Linked DNA regions of Homo sapiens: all the other regions are linked to region 1. The links are contacts of gene promoters, found by promoter capture Hi-C in blood cells and fetal thymus (Javierre and others, 2016). All regions are on one chromosome and are shown on one strand. The core of a region is centred on a gene start or on the middle of the fragment in contact, and the rest is flanking DNA. Distances in the headings are between cores, read along the strand shown. Region 1 holds the start of BBX (BBX high mobility group box domain containing). Region 2 holds the start of PCNP (PEST proteolytic signal containing nuclear protein). Region 3 holds the start of ATG3 (autophagy related 3).

Region 1 (3,419 bases), core at 495-2,994:
GGAAGGGGAATGCACGCTTTATTTTCCTTCCTACAGAAAGGAAAGCAAAAAATAGCTTCTCTCTCTGTCTCTCCCTCTCCCCCCCCCCCCCTCTGTCGTACATGTTGTGTCTTAGCTTTTTGCATCGTTTCGTTTTACCTTCCTCATTTAGCAGAAATGATCGCGGCTATTTCACACATAAACGTGTTCCAGATTCTGGGATTCAGGGTCCTTGTAAATTACAGGACTCGGGTTCGGTCTCAGTTATGTTAAGTTTCATACAATACCAAAAAATAAATAAAATATGATAATAAATTTCAGAGGGTGAGTGAGCGAGACGAGGTGGAGGAGGAAAAGAAACCTCGAGTCTGATTTCTGTAATTTACTAGCGACCCGGATCGCAGCAAATAACAGTGTAACACGAGTGTGGCTTAAGAGGGCTAGGGAGCTCTTTCTAGAGGCATCGACCCCATCCCCGGATAAAGGATCTGCAAGTTTTCTGTCATCGCGACCAGGCAAAGCCGTAACTTACCTTCAGAAATAAGACTTTAAACGGCCAAGGCCTTCCTCCTCCCCTCCACCACCACCCTCAGCCTCGCTCTCTCCACCTTAAACTTATTGACACAACATAATCCCACATTCAAGCAAAATCCTGACACAGCCTCCCTCCTCCTCTTCCCCCTCCTCTCTTCCCTCCCGTTCTCTCTCTCCCTCTCTCTCTGTCTCCCTCTCTCCCCCCCCTTCCCTCCCTCTTCTCTCTCCCCTTCTCCCTCGCCCTCTTCCCCCTCTCCCCCTATTCTTCCTCCAGGCTACTCTGGCACTAAAACAGCACTTTCTCTACTCGCCGCGCATTTGGGTAGGGGTGGGGGGTGAGAGGGCACTGATCTGCGGGGCCGGAACACCCAAATCCCAACTCTCCAGATGAACGAGCAACTGGGCTGCTGTTCCCGGTCACCAACGCAGACGAAACGTTCAATAAATCCACCGAAGGCTGGCTCCTCGTACCTTCCTCCACTGCCCCTGCTCCCCAGGCCCCACCTCCCCGGCAGCCGAGACCAGGCAGGGCTCCACGTACTTTCGCCGAGATGAAGTTTGGGGCTCCCCGGGCGGCCACGAGCCGCCCGCCGGCGTGAGGGCTCTGTTGTTGTTTTCCTGGGGCCGCTCCAGCCCGCGCCCCGGCGCCCGTGCCCCTCTCAGGCGGCGCTGCCTGTGTGCCGAGAGGTGCTGGTTGCAAACGCAGCCTGGCACCGGCTGGCCTACTACTCCCCAGCCCGGCCCCCAGCCTCCCGCTCGCAGGGCACTGCCTCAGCGCCCCCCGCCCCCCGGCCCCAGCCGGCGCGGCCGCCGCGACCCTCGCCCCCGACCTCTCCCGACCCAAAGTTTTGGCGGAGGGGGAAAGTGCCCAGGGAGCGGGCCGGCTGGCGGCGGCTCCGGACGCGCGGGGTTCCCTCCGTCTTCCTCAAGTCCACCCTACCGGCTGCCGCCGCCGCCGCCGCCGCCGCCGCCGCTGCTCCTGCCGCGGAGTCCTTGGGGCTGCAGCCCGGCGGCTCGCAAGTGAGTAGGAAAACAGAAAGTGAGGGGAGTGCGCCCAGGGAGGGCTGGGGATGGGGGGCGCCTACCTCGCGGGCTCGCCGGGCGTGAGGGCGTGTGTGTAGCTAGCCCTCAGCGGCCAGTCAGGGTTTCTCTATGGGAAAGTGGAGAGAAGCTCGCGGAGCCGCTCTGCCTCCGCTTCACTGTACACTGCTCCACATACAGTACATGCAACCCGGAGAGACTGAAAACACTCATTTTATATAAGGCAGCCTGCCATTGGCCCGCGCAGTGACGGACAGGCCGCGCAGCCAAACAAGAGGCCCGTTACACCCAAACACACGCACACATACACACATTTTACAGAGACACACAAAGATCATCACATTTTCTATTTTCTAATGTTCGGGACCTGTAGACAGTAGGAGAGGACAGGTAAAGAGGCCCAGCAGAGTGGGGTAAAGGGGAAAACCCCTGTCTGCACCAAGTTGCAAGGCTTGAAACTGGTGTCCTTTTGACTTGGGAGGGTTATGGTAATAAACTACAACTCCACTGGATATGGAAGTGAGGGGGGTTTTTCATCGCTGCCTTTTGGTGCCCCATGGAAGAGGCCTGCATTGTGTTACGATTTTACAGCCTGACCCGGCTAACAAGTGGCCAAGAAAGGCTTTTATCACCTTGGATTTCTTTTGTCAATGGGTTAGCTATCACATAGGCCAAAATAGTGCAAGATAAGTTTATCAGGACTCTAATGCATTGAGGTTGTTAGTGCCTCATTCGTAGGTAGATTCAAAAAAATCAATATAACAACACACAAAGATAAACATTTTGCTGAAATAGCCAAACAACTTTTAACTGGTCAGTGGACTGCCATCACCTGTGTGGACATGCAAACTGTGCTGTTAGGTAAAATAAGTCATGGAAGATTGGCTATTGACCCTTAGCCTTCAAAACAGACCTTTGATTCAATATATACATGATTTATATTTTGCATATTATATATAAAAATATATGACTCTTTACATATTTCACATCTCATGTGAACATCATATGTTGCATGACTTTTGGAGATGATGAACCTCAGGACTGGTCTTTCTGATTGTTTTTCAACAATGCAACTTCAGAAGATTATATGAGACAGTTCAATACACATAAGTCAACAGGTTGGTGGAAAGAAGTCAAAGCTGGAAATTAGAAGGAATAAATTGTAGATTAAACTCTTTAACCAGCTGAGCAATCTTGAGCAAGTTACTTAACCTCTCCAATGCTCAGACTTGGTTTTGATTTTTAAGATTAAAATAAGAAGCTTTTCCAGATTCCCTCAATTAAATGTTTATTCAGCATCTACTATGTGTCAGGCATTATCTTAGGCCTAGATGTTTTCTTAGGGTTCCTTCCGTTTTAAGAGTTGGTGAATTATTCTCAAATACAAACATTTTGGAGATTACATAAACACTACGATTTTATGGCCTAGGTAAGTAGCTTTAAAACTTAAAGAAAACCCAACTAGGGCAACTTATTTCAGTTCCCCTTTTATTTCCTTGATGCTGTCTTAAGGTTTTTCTCTCGCATCCATAAAGTTGTTAAAAGAGTGTATGTGTGCATGTGAGCACTCCTGTGTAAGAGGGAGAAAGAGAAACAAAATCAGAAAAGTTTAAAAAGTTCAGAAAACAAAGTGGTATTTAGAAATGTGATGTTTATTTTTTTAGAAAAATCATTTTTAAAAGGAAAAGTATATAAAAAATCACAGCATTTTATTTTATTTTATTTTTGAGATGGAGTCTAACCCTGTAGCCCAGGCTGGAGTTCAATGGCGTGATCTCAGCTCACTGCAACCTCCGCCTCCCGGGTTCAAGAGATTCTCCCACCTCAGCCTCCCGAGTAAGCTGGGACTACAGGCACCTGCCATC
Region 2 (3,419 bases), core at 493-2,992, 5.9 Mb after region 1:
AAAGACCATAATAATTTTTCTGATACCAATTAGCAAAGTAATTCTCTACTACTTCTCCCCACATGCTAAAATGGAAACATCAATATTCATACTATAGAACTAATAACCCTCAACTGAAAGAATGGCAGGTAAATTATACAGTGGATTTATAATGACACTCAAGGTACATTTTGACAGCACATTAAACACGTCTGCTACCCTCGGTCAAGACAGTTAACGAGATGGCCTTAAAATCAACACATGATTCTTTAGGCTTTTCCTCAAACTACGTCTAAAATTTTTTGCTTTTCCTCAAACTACTTTTAAACTTTTATGTAATTTTATCCCACAATTTCCAATACAATTTTTTTGGGAAAAAAAATTCCCTAGTGAGAAAGTAGTAGATGGTTTAAATTTAAATTGTTCTTTCATAAGGTATTTTACTAGTTATAAAAAAAAAAAAAGACAGGGGGTGGGGAGGGAAGAGAGAGATGGAGTTCCAGCTTAACTAACAGAATTGTACGTGTTTTTTAAAAAGGAAATCCTGGGTCCAAAGTAATTAACATTACACTTAATCTTTTCAATAATTTTTGTTCCCAAGGCAATTAACATGAAACATTATGTTAGTAGGTCTACTAGTGGCCTTCATATGCTATTAATCGTTTCTATTTTCTCATATTAAATAATTTCGGGAATGATAACTAAGGTGGTCAGAATAGAGAATAATGTTTAAAATGTTCTAAAAACATTTTAAACAGCTCGCACGTGTTAAGTCACTTGTCTTGTTATGTGCAAAGAGGGAGCTGGAGAGATTACGTTTCTTTTCCTTCACGCACAAGACCCGAATTTAGGGAGTGGAATGGACAGAATAAGGATAGCTGTAACCTGAGTTTAACGTCGTAACAAAATACAGGAAGAGTCACGCTAGACTATTTAGTCGCCTAAGTATCTGGCAAGCGGTCAGCTGGCAACAGCCTAAGGGAGATACTTCAAAGAAAAGCAACCAAACCTTAGCCCTAGACCCCGCAGCTTAAACCAGAGGGCAGGCAAAGGCATTCCTCTTCCCCTCCATCACCTCGGCCCATCCTGTCACAGGGTCAATATTAAACTTGGAAGTAAAGGAAAGAGAGCAGGCCGGAGTTGTCCACCTCCTCAGTGAAAAGGGAGCAGCAAGCGTAATTAACTCCTGCGTGTAACTGAGAGGCCGGCACCGTCAGAAACTCAGCCTGCGGCCAGTTCCCGCGGCAACTACTCGGTGGCTCGCACTGTGTGTATGTTATGTCTCATGAGCGTCTCCGGTGTGTGTGTTTTGTGTGATGTGCGTCTCCGGTGTGGCGGTAGCGGCTCCTGCACCGCCGCTCCTGGTCCCACCCCGAGTTCGGTCTCCCTTTCTGGCGCCCATCTCCCTTCTCCTCGGAATCAGGGCCTCCGCTGGGGCCAGGAGGTGACGAACAGTGGCCGGCTCTCCCCAGGCAAGGAGGCGATGTAGGCCCGGAGCCCAGAGGGCCGCATCGGGCGTGCCCGAGGCAGGTCTGGGCCCAACACCTGGCCGGGTGAGGTCCAGATCCGCCCATTCTCGCCCCACCCCACTCCCCCCACCCTGGGAGCTCAAAGAAAGGCCCGGAGCATCCCACGCTGCCCACGACGCTGGGGTTGTGTTCACCTCCGGCGGCTCCAGCTCGCTGCGACTTTTCAGGCTTCTCGTCTCCCGCCTTCCCGTCCGCCATTTTCCCCGCCGCGGCCTCCCCTGCAGCCACGCCAAGGACGTCACGACCCCGCCCAACAACCATCGAGTTTTTGGGGCCAGCCGGCGTGGTGGCAGCCTAGAGCGGTCCCGAGGAATGAAAAGAGGCCGCCTTCGGAAGCGGAAGTGGATGTGATGTCATCGAGTAGCCGCCTCGGAAGGAAGAGCTGGGAAGGTTGGGCGGTCTAAGAGTGCTGGCTAGGCACTTTATTAGAGGGCAGTCAGGTCTTCATGGTCTAGCGACAGGTCCGGAGAAGTGAGGGGAAATGGAGCATCTCCCTGGAAACGCTGGGATCTTAGAAGGTTTCTGCATACCCAGATGTGGTTGCAGCTGAGGCTGAGAGTGTCTTCCGTTCCGGCCTTGCTGGATAACGCATGCCTGCCAACTCTATGTAAACAAAAAGCCTGCATTCTTTTTCCCTAAAGGGGAAATCAGTGTTTATCTAGCGCCCCCTAGCTTCAGACGCCTTTCATACACTCGTTTAATCACGGCGATTGTCCAAATATAGAATTCTCCTCTCAATTACCTGTAAGAGTTGAGGTCAGAGAGAGTAATTTGTCTAAGTCACGTAGCCAACTGTAAAGTTACTTTTTGTATAGTCTGCTTCTACCAAGTTGAGAAACTACTATGTCAAGTTAAGACTGCAGTAATTTCTGCCTTAATAAGAAACCTTTAGTGGATTCCTACAGTCTGCATTCTGAAGTCCGTGAGTTACATTAGGCCCTAGCCTACCTTTTCGGCTTCATCTTCCCCCTTTCTCAGTATTTATCCAGCCCTCCTAGCCAAATGGGGTCTATTACTTGCTTAGGGAACTGGAGTTTCTGGGTTTGTCTTACCATATATAGTTAGAGAAAGTCTTAGGAGTCAGAACTTGGATTTGAATCTGTTTTGCCCTTTCCTGCTTGAGTAACCTTGAGACTTGCTTACTGCCTACAGAGCTACCTTTTCTTCTCTATAAAAGAGCAATAATAATAGTACCTCCTCAAAGAGTGGTAATAGGGATCAAATGAGATCATCTTTGTATACCATTATTTGGTCACTTCATACTTCCCTCAGTTTGTGTGTGTGTGTGTGTGTGTGTGTGTTTTAAGTGTTGTCTCTCTGAATGGCTCAAAAGTTCCTTGACAACAGAGACCAGTTTTTAAAAACTGTGTACTGTGCGTTTCATATATGAATATAAAAAGTGTTCAATATTTGCGGATGGATTACTTCTCGGGCTTCAAGTCCAGGGAGTGGAGAAAGAATGAAGAAATTATCAAAGTGTGTTTCCCATGACAGAAGCAGGGCAGTGTGGTGGTGATTTTGTGATCTAGGTTGAAGTCCCTGATCCATCATTTATCATATATGTAAAAGTAACCAGCAAACTATCTTACAGGTACTTAATTCATGTTTGTTTCATTTTCCTTGTGATCTTTTCAAGGTAATCATTGAGACTCTCGTTTCTATCATTTTAAAAATGGAGATATACACGAAGATTTTTATTTGAGATTATGTATTTACAGATGCTTGTAATTTTTTATGGGGGGTGGAATGGAGTCTCTCATTCTGTCACCCAGGCTGGAGTGCAATGGCATGGTCTTGGCTCACTGCAACCTCCGCCTCCTGGGTTCAAGCGATTCTCCTGCCTCAGCCTCTCGAGTAGCTGGGACAACAGGCGCGTGCCACCACACCCGGCTAATGTTTGTATTTTTAGTA
Region 3 (3,419 bases), core at 510-3,009, 5.0 Mb before region 1:
ATCCATTATCAAACATTTTTTCTTGTTGAGGAATGCAAGGTTAAATAATCAAATTTAAATATGCTTTATCACTCACATGAAGCAAAAGGCATTATTATTTCCATGTTATATATAACAGAACCAAAGGCAAGAGAGAGATGTGTGATTAGATGGAAGTGCTCCATGCATATACCAAGTCTTAACTTACCTTCATTGGCAGAATACTTCACTAGTAAGATGCGACTTGAGCTTAAAGCAATGAATATGGCACCTAGCAGGAATGTATACATTGTTGACAAGGAGCATATTACAGGATGACTACAGCACTGTTTTTCCATTCCACTGTTTTTTAATTACCTTAAAGAGAAAAACACTTTCATGAACGACCTTGTTGGCAGACCCTAAACGCAAATACCATTGATCGTGAGGACAAAAAAGGAATTTTTAAAAAATTTTGGCTATGACTATATCAGCACCAAGAAAGTTGAGGCATAAAGAAACTATGACAAAAGGAAAGTGAAAATCTGATAAGAGGGAGTACTCTGGAGACAGAAAACGTAGAACCAGATTAGACCTGCTGACAAAGGTAGCAGGTGAGCAAATGACACTTTGCAACAGCAGAAAAGAATTCTTCAAAGCAATTTTGAATTTTATTTTTAAATTTTATTTATTTATGTATTTTGAGACGGAGTCTCGCTCTGTCACCCAGGCTGGAGTGCAACGGCGCGGTCTTGGCTCACTGCAACCCCTACCTACCGGACTCAAGCGATTCTCCTGCGTCAGCCTCCAGAATAGCTGGGACTACAAGCGCCCGCCACCACGCCCGGCTAATTTTTGTATTTTTAGTAGAGACGGGGTTTCACTATGTTGGCCAGGCTGGTCTCGAACTCCTGACTGTGATCCGCCCGCCTCTGCCTCCCAAAGTGCTGGGATTACAGGCGTGAGCCACCGCGCCCGGCCTCGCTTTTACTCTTATTAGTAAATAATTTTGCTGTAAGATAAGGCTTTCAGAATTGTATTTTCCTCCTCTTTTCCCTCGGAGGAAAAAGCTTATTAGGACAGACTTCATTACAATAACGACCAAAATGGAAATATCTGAAACACTGCTGTAAAGTTTTACTGAACTAGTTAGTGTTTGAAATGGAGGAGATCGTAGAAATCAATGAATCTAAGGCCCTCTTTTGATAGGCTGAGGACACTAAACCCCAGGTTGGGTAAGTAACTTGCCCAAAGCCTCCCAGCGTACTGTAGGAATAGCGCATAGAGCCTGCGGGGAGTGGGGAGAAATGCCAATACTGACAGCCCCATTGGGCGCACGCCTACAGGACGCCTCCCCGACAGGAGGGGGCCAGATTTCCCTTCACAGTCAGGGACTACCCTTCTAGTCACACATGCGCAGTAGGGCTCTTCACTGGCGCACCCTCCCCTCAGACGCAGGCGCAATTCCTTGCCCGCGGGGCGCGGTTACCTCCCTCAGAAGAGCTTCTAGTGGAAGAACGCACATCCTAGAGCTGAGACAGTAACTGTCTAGCCCCGTAGTAGCAGCAGTAGCCTTTAGGGTCCATACGTGGAGAAGCTACAGTAGGTATAGGCGAAAAAGCCCCTCCCTCTAAGCCGCCTATTGCAGAACAAAAACCACGATTACGTCCGGATTGGGAAAAAGCGGACCCGACACCCATTGCGCAGGCACGTTCAGTGTTACGCTTCCGGAAGGAGGGGAGAAGCGGCTTATCCCGCCCCAGCCCGGCCCCTTTCTCACGTCACGTGCCGGGAGAGTCTAGTGTCACGTGAGGCCCCGGTGGCGGCGCAGCTACGGCAAGAGAGTGAGAAGGAAGGGAAGCCGGAAGGGGCGCGAGTGAAGCAAAGCGAGGACAGACAGCTCGCAGAGGGCGAGGGGTGCGTGTGCGTCCGCTTCTCACCTCAGGTCTCCCTTCGGCCCCGCTGCCCTCCCTCGCGGCTGGGTGACAGCTGGGTCCGGTCCGTCGCGGGCTGCCTGGGGTGCGAGGATCGCGCACCCCGTCTTCGCGCGCTGTGCCTGCCGCCCCGCCCCCTCGTCCCGCCCGTCCCGTCGCGTCGCGTCCCGTCCCCTCGGGTGCTGCCAGCCGGGTGCTGATGCGAGTCGGTGGCAGCGAGGACATTTTCTGACTCCCTGGCCCCTGACACGGCTGCACTTTCCATCCCGTCGCGGGGCCGGCCGCTACTCCGGCCCCAGGATGCAGAATGTGATTAATACTGTGAAGGGAAAGGCACTGGAAGTGGCTGAGTACCTGACCCCGGTCCTCAAGGTAAGCCAGGCCAGGGTTGCCGGGAGCTGTCAGGCACATGCTCGACTTTTCAGGGACCAGGCGCCGCAGGAGTCCCCGCTTTCTCCGGCGGGGCAAGGTGTAGGAAGGCAGTAGGGCTCGAGACACAGGGAAGTGTGCAGCCCCCACCCGTAGTCTTAACCGGCTGTTCGTTAGGGCTTTCTGACTCCTCAGGGGTAAACTTGGAGCGACGCTCTGCGTGTTCCTGCCTTCTCCCGTCATAACTCTGCGCGGTCGGGTACGTCGGGTTGGAAGGGTGTTCGGAGGCTGAGTAGATTGAAGAACGTTAAATCCAAACACTGGAAGTCTTTTAGCCTTTTTAAGCAAGGATTTTGCTTCTCTTTAAAAAATGAATTTAGTGTTTGACACACAGAGGTCAAAAGAGACCTGAGGTGAGGTCACTTTTCCTTTAAGTTTCATGAAAGTCCGCTGTAGTGGGGAAGTTGTGACTGCGATCCCAACTCGTTTAGATTTCAGAGGAAGGAGGTGAAATTGGCAACATTATCTCATTCAGTAACCTTGAACCCATCTAACGAGCAAAACCTTTTTCCCAAGCTTTTCAGATAGCCGTAGCTGGTTATTAGTGATAACAAGGCACGGTTTGACCTTCCTGGCTGTATAATTTTTAAAAATATATTGGCAACAGTACAGCATTTTTAAAGTAAAAAATTGTGACACATTAGCTGTTACAGTAGTGACTGATTTTTTTTTTAAAGGTAAATTTCTACAACTGCCTTCAAGCTTTTCTTTTATAACTCTTTTGGAGTGTTTTGTTGTAACTTCATTTTTGCTTTCTGAAAAGTGAGCAAGAATAGTAAATTAATGGGAAGTTCTTGCTTAGTTTTTGTTTTTTTTTTCTAGTTGTTTTTAAGCTTTCAGTTAGAATGTACCAATCTCAGTGTGGGGGTGAAATACCTTAATATGCTAAGAATAGTGGAGAGTTTTGCTTTGCTCCCTTTCCATGACAAAGGGAAGTACTAGGTCTATACTTTTTAAAATACGTTTTTGTAAAGCTCCTTTTAAAAGAATAACTTATTGGCCAAGTAAGAAATAAACCAGCGATTATAAATGAGAATTTCAACTGTTGCTTTGCTTACATTTGTTTACTGTGAAAGTCATTTTAAGATTATTCAGTCA

Evidence for each region. Contacts are between HindIII fragments. The CHiCAGO score rates a contact against its expected background, and 5 or more counts as called.
Region 2: the fragment with the promoter of PCNP here is called in contact with the fragment with the promoter of BBX in region 1 in 4 of 17 cell types (naive CD8 T cells, activated CD4 T cells, total B cells and 1 more); the score reaches 8.1 in naive CD8 T cells.
Region 3: the fragment with the promoter of ATG3 here is called in contact with the fragment with the promoter of BBX in region 1 in 1 of 17 cell types (naive CD4 T cells); the score reaches 6.8 in naive CD4 T cells.

Annotation. Positions count from the first base shown.
Region 1 is chr3:107,521,287-107,524,705 of GRCh38, reverse strand. BBX (BBX high mobility group box domain containing) reads right to left here and starts at 1,744. Exons shown (of 18, transcript NM_001142568.3): 1 at 1,599-1,744. RefSeq lists silencers at 1,068-1,137, 1,248-1,337, 1,368-1,677 and an enhancer at 2,078-2,127. The HindIII fragment of the contact is 5,936 bases long and covers 1-2,817 here.
Region 2 is chr3:101,572,503-101,575,921 of GRCh38, reverse strand. PCNP (PEST proteolytic signal containing nuclear protein) reads right to left here and starts at 1,742. Exons shown (of 5, transcript NM_020357.3): 1 at 1,643-1,742. The coding sequence starts at 1,706. RefSeq lists enhancers at 1,223-1,382, 1,403-1,562, 1,643-1,772, 1,873-2,142, 1,586-2,531. The HindIII fragment of the contact is 5,212 bases long and covers 1-3,419 here.
Region 3 is chr3:112,560,302-112,563,720 of GRCh38, reverse strand. ATG3 (autophagy related 3) reads left to right here and starts at 1,759. Exons shown (of 12, transcript NM_022488.5): 1 at 1,759-2,264. The coding sequence starts at 2,193. SLC35A5 (solute carrier family 35 member A5) reads right to left here and starts at 1,676. Exons shown (of 7, transcript NM_017945.5): 1 at 1,448-1,676; 2 at 188-336. The coding sequence starts at 317. RefSeq lists enhancers at 1,378-2,187, 2,188-2,997. The HindIII fragment of the contact is 1,809 bases long and covers 1,031-2,839 here.